Regions from separate parts of the Homo sapiens genome. Here region 2 is linked to region 1. Evidence: promoter capture Hi-C in 16 types of primary human blood cells and fetal thymus (Javierre and others, 2016). All regions are on one chromosome and are shown on one strand. The core of a region is centred on a gene start or on the middle of the fragment in contact, and the rest is flanking DNA. Distances in the headings are between cores, read along the strand shown. Region 1 holds the start of IRS2 (insulin receptor substrate 2). Region 2 overlaps LOC105370355 (a long non-coding RNA gene).

The links. Contacts are between HindIII fragments. The CHiCAGO score rates a contact against its expected background, and 5 or more counts as called.
Region 2: a contact is called between a fragment that was not itself captured here and the fragment with the promoter of IRS2 in region 1, in 1 of 17 cell types (endothelial precursors). The highest score is 5.2, in endothelial precursors.

Annotation. Positions count from the first base shown.
Region 1 is chr13:109,784,036-109,789,804 of GRCh38, reverse strand. It overlaps IRS2 (insulin receptor substrate 2), which reads left to right and starts at 3,222. Exons shown (of 2, transcript NM_003749.3): 1 at 3,222-5,769. The coding sequence starts at 3,752. LOC124903211 (WAS/WASL-interacting protein family member 1-like) reads right to left here and starts at 2,721. Exons shown (of 2, transcript XM_047430835.1): 1 at 2,360-2,721; 2 at 1-2,205. The coding sequence starts at 2,712. The coding sequence ends at 1,968. RefSeq lists silencers at 2,825-2,994, 3,015-3,244 and an enhancer at 4,086-4,715. The HindIII fragment of the contact is 25,501 bases long and covers 386-5,769 here.
Region 2 is chr13:108,334,931-108,340,699 of GRCh38, reverse strand. It overlaps LOC105370355 (a long non-coding RNA gene), which reads right to left. Exons shown (of 3, transcript XR_007063863.1): 2 at 5,128-5,318. Among named protein-coding and RNA genes, the nearest start is that of TNFSF13B, 68 kb to the right of the region's middle. RefSeq lists an enhancer at 5,147-5,316. The HindIII fragment of the contact is 259 bases long and covers 2,200-2,458 here.

The DNA.
Region 1 (5,769 bases), core at 1,973-4,472:
TATTTGTATTGTGAACCTGTAACATATTTTTAAATCTCTACACTTTTATATAATTGATTCTTTCTTGAAAAGTAATTATTTCAGAAGACTTCTAATAAAATAATCATTATTGTATATGATTCTGTTAAAAATAGAAAAAACAAACAAACAGAAAAAACTCCCTGCTGAAAGATATGGCCATTTTATTAGCTGTGAAAGGAAAGAAAGCTTCCAAGGAAAGATCTTGGACCATGAGAAAAAATTTCAACCAGGCTGTTTGCTGGCAAGAGGCCATGCCAGCCCCAGCCAGTCCTGCGTGCAGAGCATGTTGGCAGATGTTATTAGCTGACTTTTGTTGAAAAAGTATGGAAGAACAGTTGGAAAATCACAAGGTGTAGAACAAGCTTTAAATAAATAAATAGCTTATCTGGCAATAGAAAGGGGGAAAGAAAACAAGTTCCTCGGTTGAGGAAGAGGACTGGGATACTTCTAATTACAGAGTTTCTTACTGTTGGTTTGTTTCATGGGCTGACTCTCAATGAGAATTGAAATTGTATCATCCACATTTGTATTTGGAGGTTCTAACTGCAGAATTGCAATTAATTTCCAGTTTGCTGTAGGAAATTTATACTCTCTATGACAGAATACCACGGACATAGGTGATAATTCTTTAACCTTCTCTCTTTTGTCCCCAGTCTGGTAACTGAGGCAGTACATGGGGAAAGTGCTAACTGCCAATCCAGAGCTGCTGACACCTTAAAAACACTGGCCTTTAACACTAGGATGGCCCCAAGAAACAAGCAAACAGGAAAAGATGACACCTGCTAGCGTGTGACAGGCACAGCAAGTAAATGTTCAATACGGATATGAAAATGCAACTGCATAATAAAAGTCAACATGAAAAAGAAAAAGATTGCAAAATATACTTTCTCAGAAGAAACCATCACATGATGTTTAAAAGTGGTGGTTCCTTTAGCATTGTCTACTGATGGCTGGCAACATACAGGAACATAGAGGTGGCCCATTTACATCCTCATAAAAGTGGGATGTAAGTGATCACAAAGCCAATAAAACTACACCACATTTTCTTCAAGCACCAAGATAAGAATCCCTTCATCTTTCCTGACTAGACATATTGCTAGGCAACATTTGTGAACGTAAGAAAAGGTAACAAGATCTAAAAAGAACGCCGAAGCATAATGTTCATAAAGGTGGCGCCCCCAACACACACAATCATACACACATACCTATACACACACAATCACACAATCTATTATATAAACAAACACGCACACATGCACACATAGGTGCACAGACTTAAAATGGCATTTCTTGAGGTATTTTTTTTTAAGGTATGATTTAAAAATGGAAGATCAACTTTAAACACACCTTTTTGAGGCACACTGGGTGATATTTGCCACAATGATTATTCTTCCCAAATTCAGGCTACTGATCAATAATCCTAACTGTATACATGCTAAAAATAAAAACGCTATAATCTTTGTACTAGTCAGGGCTCTCTTGGCACATAAAATTAGCCAACACAATCTTCAAGTCACATGTTACAAAAACATATTAAAATATATATCACTCTTTCAAAAATTACACTTATTTTCTCTTAGATTAAGATTTTATTACTTTTAAGATACTTCTATGAATTATAGAGGACATCCAAAAGTAAACATCCGGGACTTAAAAACAATAACCAATATTATAAGATAAATTATTGCTGTAAATTATTTCATGAAGGCACAATTAAAAAAAAAATAAAATAAACAGCCAAAGCCTGTTTTGTTGAGTTTTCTTCGTTGCGCAGGATCGGGAGCTTGCTGGGATCTGAACTCAGGAAGCCCTCACCTCACCCTGACTTGGTCATTGAGGAGACGTAATTGCAGGGGTGCTTATTTGCTATAGGCTTTGAAAGTCACAAAAGCCCAGTAGATACATGAATTCGAAGCAGTTCTCCAAGGGCATCTCCAACTTGGCAGTCACCGCCCGCACCGCGCACACAGGTAGTGGACGCCCGCCCACCTGCCCGTCTGCTGGGCGCAGGGCGCTCCTGGGGTGGGGAGGGCGCTCCTGTGGGGGGAAAAGGGGCGCTCCTGCCTCGGAGGGGGAAAGGACGCCCCTGTGGAAGGAAGGGGGGGCTCTTGAAGCGGTGTGGTGAGAGGACGCTTCCGAGGAAGGAAGGGGGTGCTCCTGCAGCGGTGGGGGGAGAGGACGCCCCTGCGGAAGGAAGGCGGCGCTCCTGCGGGGGCTGGAGAGACGCCCGCGCGGTCTCCCGGCTCAGGGACCGCTGGCTCGCGGGTCCGCCCTCTCCCCGGCGCTATGGAAACCGCACTTTCTCCGCCTGCCGTCCCCGATCTCTTTCTCCTATTACCTCCCAAACGCGATTTCAACTTCCCGACAAGCTGACAAGTGAATGGCGCAGAGGACGCCCCGTAAAGCGCCCGCGAGCGGGTGGGACACAGGCGCCCCCTCCGCGCCCCTCTGTCCTCCACGGAAGGGCGCGCGCCGCTCTCGATCTGGAGCGCGGTGCTCGCGAACCCGCGGCCGCGGGCCCTGGAACCTCCCCGCGTTTCGCGGCTGCGGGGGGACGGAGATGCGGCCGGGAGACGGGGACGGGAAACGGGGGACGGGGATGGGGCGCGCCCACCCCGAGCGCGGGAGCGGCCGCCCTCGCCCAAAATGGGGACCCCGCGCCCCGAGAGCACGGCCCGGCTCGCCGCCCATGCTTCCACTGCAAGGCCGCAGCCCCCGCCGCCGATCCCGATCCCCCGCCCCGCCCAGCCGCGGCCCCGCCCGGCGCCCCCTCCCCGGCGGAAGCTCAAGCCCAATTAATTGAGTCCGAGGCGGGAGGGAAGGGCCCTGCGCGCCGTGGCCCGCCCCGCCCCTCTTCCGCGCCCCTTTTCCCGCCCTGGGTGGCATCTCCTCCGCCGGCATCCACAACAAGCCGCTGATTAATGAGGCCGGGGCCGCCCCACCCCGCCCGGCCGGGCCGGGGCCTTCGCGGGAGGGGGAGGGGACGGCGGGAAACGCGGCCCGGGGAGAAAGGGGGGCGGGGCGGGGGCGCGCGGCCCGCCCCCGCGAGCGCCGCGCCGATTGGCCGAGCGCGCCGTCCGTCGGGGGGCGCGGCGCCAATGCGAGGCAGCGGGGCGGGGCGGCCGCGCTGTGTGTGCCTGCGTAACGCCGAGTCACATGTTGTTTTGCTCTTCTTAGTTCAGTCACTCGGTGCGCGATGTGTTACTCACTGTGCGGCGGGGACCGCGACGAGCCCGGGTCGCCGTTGGCAGCAGCAGCAGCAACACCAGCAGCAGCAGCAGCCCCGGCGGCGGCGCGGACCCCGAGCGCCCGGGCGCACCCCGGCTTCCCGGAGCGCGACGCGGCGGCAGCAGCCCCGGTGCGGCCGCGCGCGCCTTAGGCTCGGCCCCGCGGCTCGGGGACCCCGACTCCCGGCCCAGCGAGCGCGTCCCCCGGCGCCGCCCGAGAGCCCGAGGAGGCAGCGGCCGCAGGCAGCCGGGGAGGGGGGCGGCCACCGCCCGCGCCGGGCATCCTCAGGAGCCCCAGAGCGCGGAGGGCGCGGCGCCGCCGAGCGGTGCTGGCCCCCGCGGGCCTCCCCGGACCTTCCCCACCGCCTGGGCCCGAGGGACGCGTGATCGGGCGGGCGGCCGGGCGCAAGGGTGGGAGGGAGCCGCCCCCGCCCGCGCCCCCTCCGCCCCTCGCCCCAACCCCTGGGCGCCGGGCCCGGGCCGCGCGGCCTGAAGCGCCCGCGATGGCGAGCCCGCCGCGGCACGGGCCGCCCGGGCCGGCGAGCGGAGACGGCCCCAACCTCAACAACAACAACAACAACAACAACCACAGCGTGCGCAAGTGCGGCTACCTGCGCAAGCAGAAGCATGGCCACAAGCGCTTCTTCGTGCTGCGCGGACCCGGCGCGGGCGGCGACGAGGCGACGGCGGGCGGGGGGTCGGCGCCGCAACCGCCGCGGCTCGAGTACTACGAGAGCGAGAAAAAGTGGCGGAGCAAGGCAGGCGCGCCGAAACGGGTGATCGCTCTCGACTGCTGCCTGAACATCAACAAGCGCGCCGACGCCAAGCACAAGTACCTGATCGCCCTCTACACCAAGGACGAGTACTTCGCCGTGGCCGCCGAGAACGAGCAGGAGCAGGAGGGCTGGTACCGCGCGCTCACCGACCTGGTCAGCGAGGGCCGCGCGGCCGCCGGAGACGCGCCCCCCGCCGCCGCGCCCGCCGCGTCCTGCAGCGCCTCCCTGCCCGGCGCCCTGGGCGGCTCTGCCGGCGCCGCCGGGGCCGAGGACAGCTACGGGCTGGTGGCTCCCGCCACGGCCGCCTACCGTGAGGTGTGGCAGGTGAACCTGAAGCCCAAGGGTCTGGGCCAGAGCAAGAACCTGACGGGGGTGTACCGTCTGTGCCTGTCTGCGCGCACCATCGGCTTCGTGAAGCTCAACTGCGAGCAGCCGTCGGTGACGCTGCAGCTCATGAACATCCGCCGCTGCGGCCACTCGGACAGCTTCTTCTTCATCGAGGTGGGCCGCTCGGCCGTCACAGGCCCCGGCGAGCTGTGGATGCAGGCGGACGACTCGGTGGTGGCGCAGAACATCCACGAGACCATCCTGGAGGCCATGAAGGCGCTCAAGGAGCTCTTCGAGTTCCGGCCGCGCAGTAAGAGCCAATCGTCGGGGTCGTCGGCCACGCACCCCATCAGCGTCCCCGGCGCGCGCCGCCACCACCACCTGGTCAACCTGCCCCCCAGCCAGACGGGCCTGGTGCGCCGCTCGCGCACCGACAGCCTGGCCGCCACCCCGCCGGCGGCCAAGTGCAGCTCGTGCCGGGTGCGCACCGCCAGCGAGGGCGACGGCGGCGCGGCGGCGGGAGCGGCGGCCGCGGGCGCCAGGCCGGTGTCGGTGGCTGGGAGCCCCCTGAGCCCCGGGCCGGTGCGCGCGCCCCTGAGCCGCTCGCACACCCTGAGCGGCGGCTGCGGCGGCCGCGGGAGCAAGGTGGCGCTGCTGCCGGCAGGGGGCGCGCTGCAACACAGCCGCTCCATGTCCATGCCCGTGGCGCACTCGCCGCCCGCCGCCACCAGCCCCGGCTCCCTGTCGTCCAGCAGCGGCCACGGCTCGGGCTCCTACCCGCCGCCGCCCGGCCCGCACCCGCCTCTGCCGCATCCGCTGCACCACGGCCCCGGCCAGCGGCCCTCCAGCGGCAGCGCCTCCGCCTCGGGCTCCCCCAGCGACCCCGGCTTCATGTCCCTGGACGAGTACGGCTCCAGCCCAGGCGACCTGCGCGCCTTCTGCAGCCACCGAAGCAACACGCCCGAGTCCATCGCGGAGACGCCCCCGGCCCGAGACGGCGGCGGCGGCGGTGAGTTCTACGGGTACATGACCATGGACAGGCCCCTGAGCCACTGTGGCCGCTCCTACCGCCGGGTCTCGGGGGACGCGGCCCAGGACCTGGACCGAGGGCTGCGCAAGAGGACCTACTCCCTGACCACGCCAGCCCGGCAGCGGCCGGTGCCCCAGCCCTCCTCTGCCTCGCTGGATGAATACACCCTGATGCGGGCCACCTTCTCGGGCAGCGCGGGCCGCCTCTGCCCGTCCTGCCCCGCGTCCTCTCCCAAGGTGGCCTACCACCCCTACCCAGAGGACTACGGAGACATCGAGATCGGCTCCCACAGGAGCTCCAGCAGCAACCTGGGGGCAGACGACGGCTACATGCCCATGACGCCCGGCGCGGCCCTCGCGGGCAGTGGGAGCGGCAGCTGCAGGAGCGA
Region 2 (5,769 bases), core at 1,080-3,579, 1.4 Mb after region 1:
GAAAAATAAACTCTCTTATCTTTATGACTGGAAGCAGTTTAACAACCTGGAACAAGGTGCCCACCTAAATGAAGTTCCTACCCTCCCACAGCAAATGAGAGACAGGGTCGTCATCTTCCTTGTTGTTTACATTTCCAAGCTATGGCTCCTAGGTCTTTGAGAAAGACACTTCCAGGTTGTGAAATTGGCCACGTTAGCTTTTAAAAATATTTACCTATCTTTAGAAAAGACAGAGAAAGAATATACAAGTTTTCTGGACAAAGTGCTCTGAGACAATGAGGGTGGGGTGGTCGGTAACGTTTTCTCTTATTTTTAACTGGGAAAGTGAAGGCTCCTACTTTTACTTTTTCTTTGCCCTTCCACCTCCTGCTTTTGCTTGTCAGAAGAGGAAGACCTTTGATCACATGTCAGCCATGGACAATAAACTATGGACTATTATCCATAGTCTATGGATAATAGGTGAGAGAAAGACCAAGCCAGGATTCCATCTAAAGGGCCATAGAAGCCCTTGTAATAACTCAATCTGTATGCGTACTAGAAATTATTAATTAACATAAGGGATGGTACAAATAGTATTTCATCGGAGAAATGAGTGGTGTACTTGATATATGATTGCTGAGGATAGTTATGTACCCCTCTTGGCTCATCTGATAAGTGTATAACGCCTGTTGAGTGAGCAGATTAATCTTCTAAAATGGTGCCAGAGGTCTAAACCTTTGGTTAATCCTTTGGCCTAAAAAACTTCAAACAATTTGGTATATTCTACCTTCAGAACTTTTTGAATTTGCACCCGAGTAAGTCTTTCATACATACTACTTACCAAAGTACACAAAAGGATGGAGAATTGGTTTTATGTCTGTATGCAGATTGCAATACTCGTCTTTGCAGTGCACCTCCTGGTAGACAGTTTGCTGGGGCAGGGGTGGGCTGCCTACCTCTAATTGTTAGTAACTACTGAAGTGCGTAAAAAATGATATGACACATGTGAGTTGCCAATTTCATTTAGGCCCATTTCCAGCAGATGTATATCTATCTCAGGAAAGGTTTAATTTATTAAGTGATGAAGTAAATGATTGGATATGCCAATACAAAATACTGAAGCGCTCTTCAAAATCTAAGAGAGTGAGCAAAGCTTAAATGTTTTTTACAATTATGCTAATCATAAATAAATCAAAAAATACATATACAGAGAGAAATAAAGATGGTTTCACAAATTTTAAATCTACCAACAACTAGCAATGAAAATCTAAAAAGACAAAATGATACGGCTTTTACAATTATACTTAAATTAGTATTATAACTTAAATGATCCTCATACCTTCATTATTTCTTTTTGTATACATGTAATAGTTACATACAAAAGCATCTACAGTTTTGGTATGTGGATTTATATATTTCAGTAATTATATAAAATTTTGTTAGCTGGTATGAACTGAAAACTCAGTTTCTTGGGCAGCAGTTCTGGTCTCAGTCCAGATATTTTGTCCTTAGCTGATATACTTTGAGTTTATTCTTCCTATGCATGTTTCGGGGGTCAGTCAGAGCTGTGGGTACGTTGATTTTGGACATCCATTCTTGGGTTGTTTCCTTTGAGAATTTCCTAGTTTCTTCAATAGCTCTTTTCTGGTTTCTTATTTATCTAGCAGAAAGATGCTAGATTTTTTTCACATGTGCCCCACAACCCCCAAAGAAAAATTACCTAGGGAGTTTCTTTTTCAAAAAAATTGTATAGATTTAGGAAATATGTCCAAGTTCAGTTTTGTTACACGGATATATTGAAGTCTGAGCTTGGAGAGTACTCATCACCCCAATAGTGAACATTGCACCCAACAGGTAATTTTCCAGCCTCAGCCCCCCTGCCACCCTCCCACATAACTTAAGGAGTTTCTACCTCCCCTTCTCTGAGCAAGCCTGCTCTCCCCTGGGGATTTGTCTGCTTCTCTTCACCCTCCAGGGCATCCTGGTTGCGGCTTTTGTTCATGTCCAGCTTTTGTAGTTATTATCACTTATTTTATTCTGAAGCTTTGTCTGGTAGAGATCTAGTCGATTTTAGTAGACACTTAATATTGACTTCTGTAAGCAGAAGTTCTCCAACTCTCATTCTGACAGGCAACTCTCATCCTTATCATACATCTCCAAAGGAAAAAATATATAAACTATAGATGGGGGAAAAAAAGCAAAGTGCATGTGCCCCAAGCTTCTTAATTAAAACATGTAGCCAATTACATTACTTCATTAATTAGTCATGTTCTATGATGTTTGAATCCAAGAACCGGCATGGGAGAAATAATTGTACTTATTAAATTCATACAGGCATGGTATTAGAAAATAAGTCTTACATTTTAAACAGAAGACACAATCTCTCACAATGACTACTCATGAGAAATGAAAAAATAGCACCTTTACATCAAACTTTTTGTTATCTGAATTGTAACTTATGTGGAGTATTTACTAAGCTTATTGACAAGCTCTTTTGAACCACTGTGTTGACACAATGAGAATTATGGATATAGGAAACAACATAGAATGCACAACAAATTCTTTGTGGCCATTTCAACTCTCTCTGTTTACTTGAGATGTGAAAATTATTTTACCCTCTAGATAAGACCTTAGCTAATGTGTAATGTAAGTGCCTTCATCTATTTACAAACTAGCATCACATATAGAAAGAAATTGGTGTAGGGCAAGAAAGTAGGAATTTCACACCTTTTTGGATTTTCTTGTTAGAGTTTATGATGGGCTTTATTTAATTTTCTCAATCAAGAAACATGAACTGATCTCTTCTGTAAGTAAAACACTGTGCTAAGGAATGAGGACAGAAAAGTGAACGAGACAGAAATAGCCTTTACCCTGATCAGCACCTGTCTAGTGACAGAGGCAGACGCATCGGCAAAATAATTGCCTGACCACTGTGGGCAGGAAGCGAACTCCGTGTTTTATCAGCTTGTCTCTCATTTGCACACCAACCCTCCTATAAATTAGCATCCCTGTTTCACAGATCAGGAAACTGAGACCCAGGAAATTTAAGCACTTGCTCAAGTATGCAGATCTAAAATGAGCGCAGTTGGAATTCAAACCAGTTTCCTTGGACTCTAGCTCCCACGCTGCTGTCAGGATAGAAAGCTGCTCTTCAAGCACATAAGATACACCGAATATGTAAAAGTAAAGCCCTGTGCCATTTCAGAGGAAGGGTTAAGGGACTCCAATTAGAGAGATGTGCAAAATCTTCATGGCCAAGAAAGTAATTTCCTATATAAGCAAAAATACTGGTGTCCAATTGAAATTAATCAAAATCAAATACAAATTATTCCACCCCAACTGCCATTTTAGATACATATACATGCTTCTCCGCAATTATAAATTCATAGCTGGTAAGTTCAAAGAAAAGTGTGTGGGTGAAGATTTACAGAAAGCTTTTTCTAGTTAAAGTGTAAAATGTGGATGGTCCTTAAAATATCAAATATTCCCTGATTCATCACATTGTTTTGGTCTGGTGCATTAATTTAAAAGAAAATGATGATTTGAGACTTTAAGATAAATAAAATAACACAATCATTAAAGTTATAATATTTCTAGATAATAGTAATCTAATCATTAAAATTCTACCATTTCCATGGTTTTTTATTAATACAATTCACAATACAGATGAATTCGTTTACTCCTGGTGATGCATGGCTACTCCAGTTCAAACAAAAGTAAGCGAAATTCAAAAAGGCTGCCTCTAGGGCTCAGGACCTATTAAACTTAATTCATTATTAAACTCAAAATCTAATTAGAAATGGAAAGAAAGAAAAAGAAATGTAGATGCATTTTCCACCCTGAGTTAAAGCAGTTGGTTTAGGAAACAATGTGAAGGCCATAATAATTTAAGCTTAACCGGAGCTTCTCATCCAAAAACTTCAATGAGATGAGGCTTGCAAGTATTCAATTTAAAGAAAATGCTTTTTCGCCATTCAAAGGGCAGAAAATGAGGCTCTGAAAATCTATCTCTCAAACTCTCGTACTGGCTCACAGACAGCAGAGTGAGGGTTTTCAGGTGATGGGACGGGGGTGTTGGAGAGAGGTAGGGAAGGACCAACCTACCATTTCATAATTTCTGCAGCTCATGTTCAATAGTACTGCAAACAGTTCACTAAATCATTAATTACCTGCAATCTCATTCATTGTGATCTTTATTAAACTGCTTAAAAAATAGAACTATCAAGGGCTTTACCAAAGAAGGCCATTGGGACTCTGTTGATTTCCACATTGATTTGATGGGAGAAGAGGATTGACCGATAAAGCAAAAGAATCCAAATCCTCCCTTTGCTCAGCACACATTAGCTCACATGACCGTCTTCACATTATACGGACCAAAAGAGGACTAATCACGTCCATTTTCTTGGCCAGTCTGTATCTGGCAACCAGACTGTTTCCTGAGGCACAACCAACATTCAGTGATGGATAAATGAGTGTGGGCTTCTCCACTGAGCCCTGGCCAGACTGCACATCACAGTGTAACTGACTGGTGTTTTCTGGAGGCTGTCAGCCACTCACTTGTGACAGGAGAGCTTGCAGACAGAGCGATGGATCAGGTAGGAGGACCTGCTCAGCCCCTGGGCTGCCTGTGTTGCTGGAAAAAGGGTGGAGAGAGAGAGGAGAAGGGACTCACTGCTGGCAACAGAAATCAAACTGCACATGGCACAAGTTATTCCTGGACAGCAACACAGAGATCTGAGGCAAATTTCCATGAGGAAGAAGGAGACGAAAGAGGATGAGAGCATTTAGCCCTGAATCCAGCACACTCTGTGCAGTCAGTAAACTTATCTAGCACACCTTACAAAGGAAATAGTCTCAGGCATCATTGTACTTTTCTTCACTACATTTGACCTCTGCACCATCTTGAGATTTTTCCAGCCTGCCTCAGCTAGAGCAGTCCTCACACTGCCTGTCCACACCCTTCCAGCCCTCCAGGACCCCACGTTGCCTCCCTCTTCTCCATCTTCAAACCCCTTCTCTGGCTCATGATTTCAGCCTGTTAATGTGCCAGAGATGCCCCTCCAGCTACCGCTCCCGCTTCCTTCATCATCAAATCAGTTGAAATATGTTACCTTTTGCCATCAAACCACTTGAAATCATGTGCCTTACCTCTGTTTTCTCCAGCTCTCACCCATGACTCAGCTCATCACAGGGAAAAATCTTCTAAATCCACATTCACAAATGTCTACTTCCCACAAACGTCCTCTTTCAACCTTTGTGTACTTGGTGGTGGCTGTCTTCCCCAGGCCTCTCTCCTCTCCTGGTTGCTGGGTGTTAATGTTGAGAAGGTAGATAGGGCTCTGCAGCATATTTAGTGAGGGAAATGCTGATGTCACCAGAATGCTCTGACTAATGGTAAGGTAGCCGGTTACACTTCATCTATACTTCCTAGAAAAACATCCCCCTTGTCCAAAAAAAAAAAAAAATGCCTCAACTGGAGCCTAGTAGATACAGAACAGAAAAAGCTAATGCTGCTTCTTAAAGACCGCACTTTGAATATTCAAGATAACTCCCATGCCTCCTCCACCAACCACCAAACCCATTTCCCAAGTCTTTTCTCTCTCTTTCCTTCTTTGTTGATGGTGATTCCTTAAATTAGTGAGCATCTAAGTCCAGCATCAAGATCTATACCCTCCAATGTTAAGCTTATCATCTTTGGAAGAAAACAACCTGTCAAACTATTTTTTTCTCTAAATAAAACATACTTTATTTTATTTTTTATTTCCATAGGTTTTTGGGAAACAGGTGGTG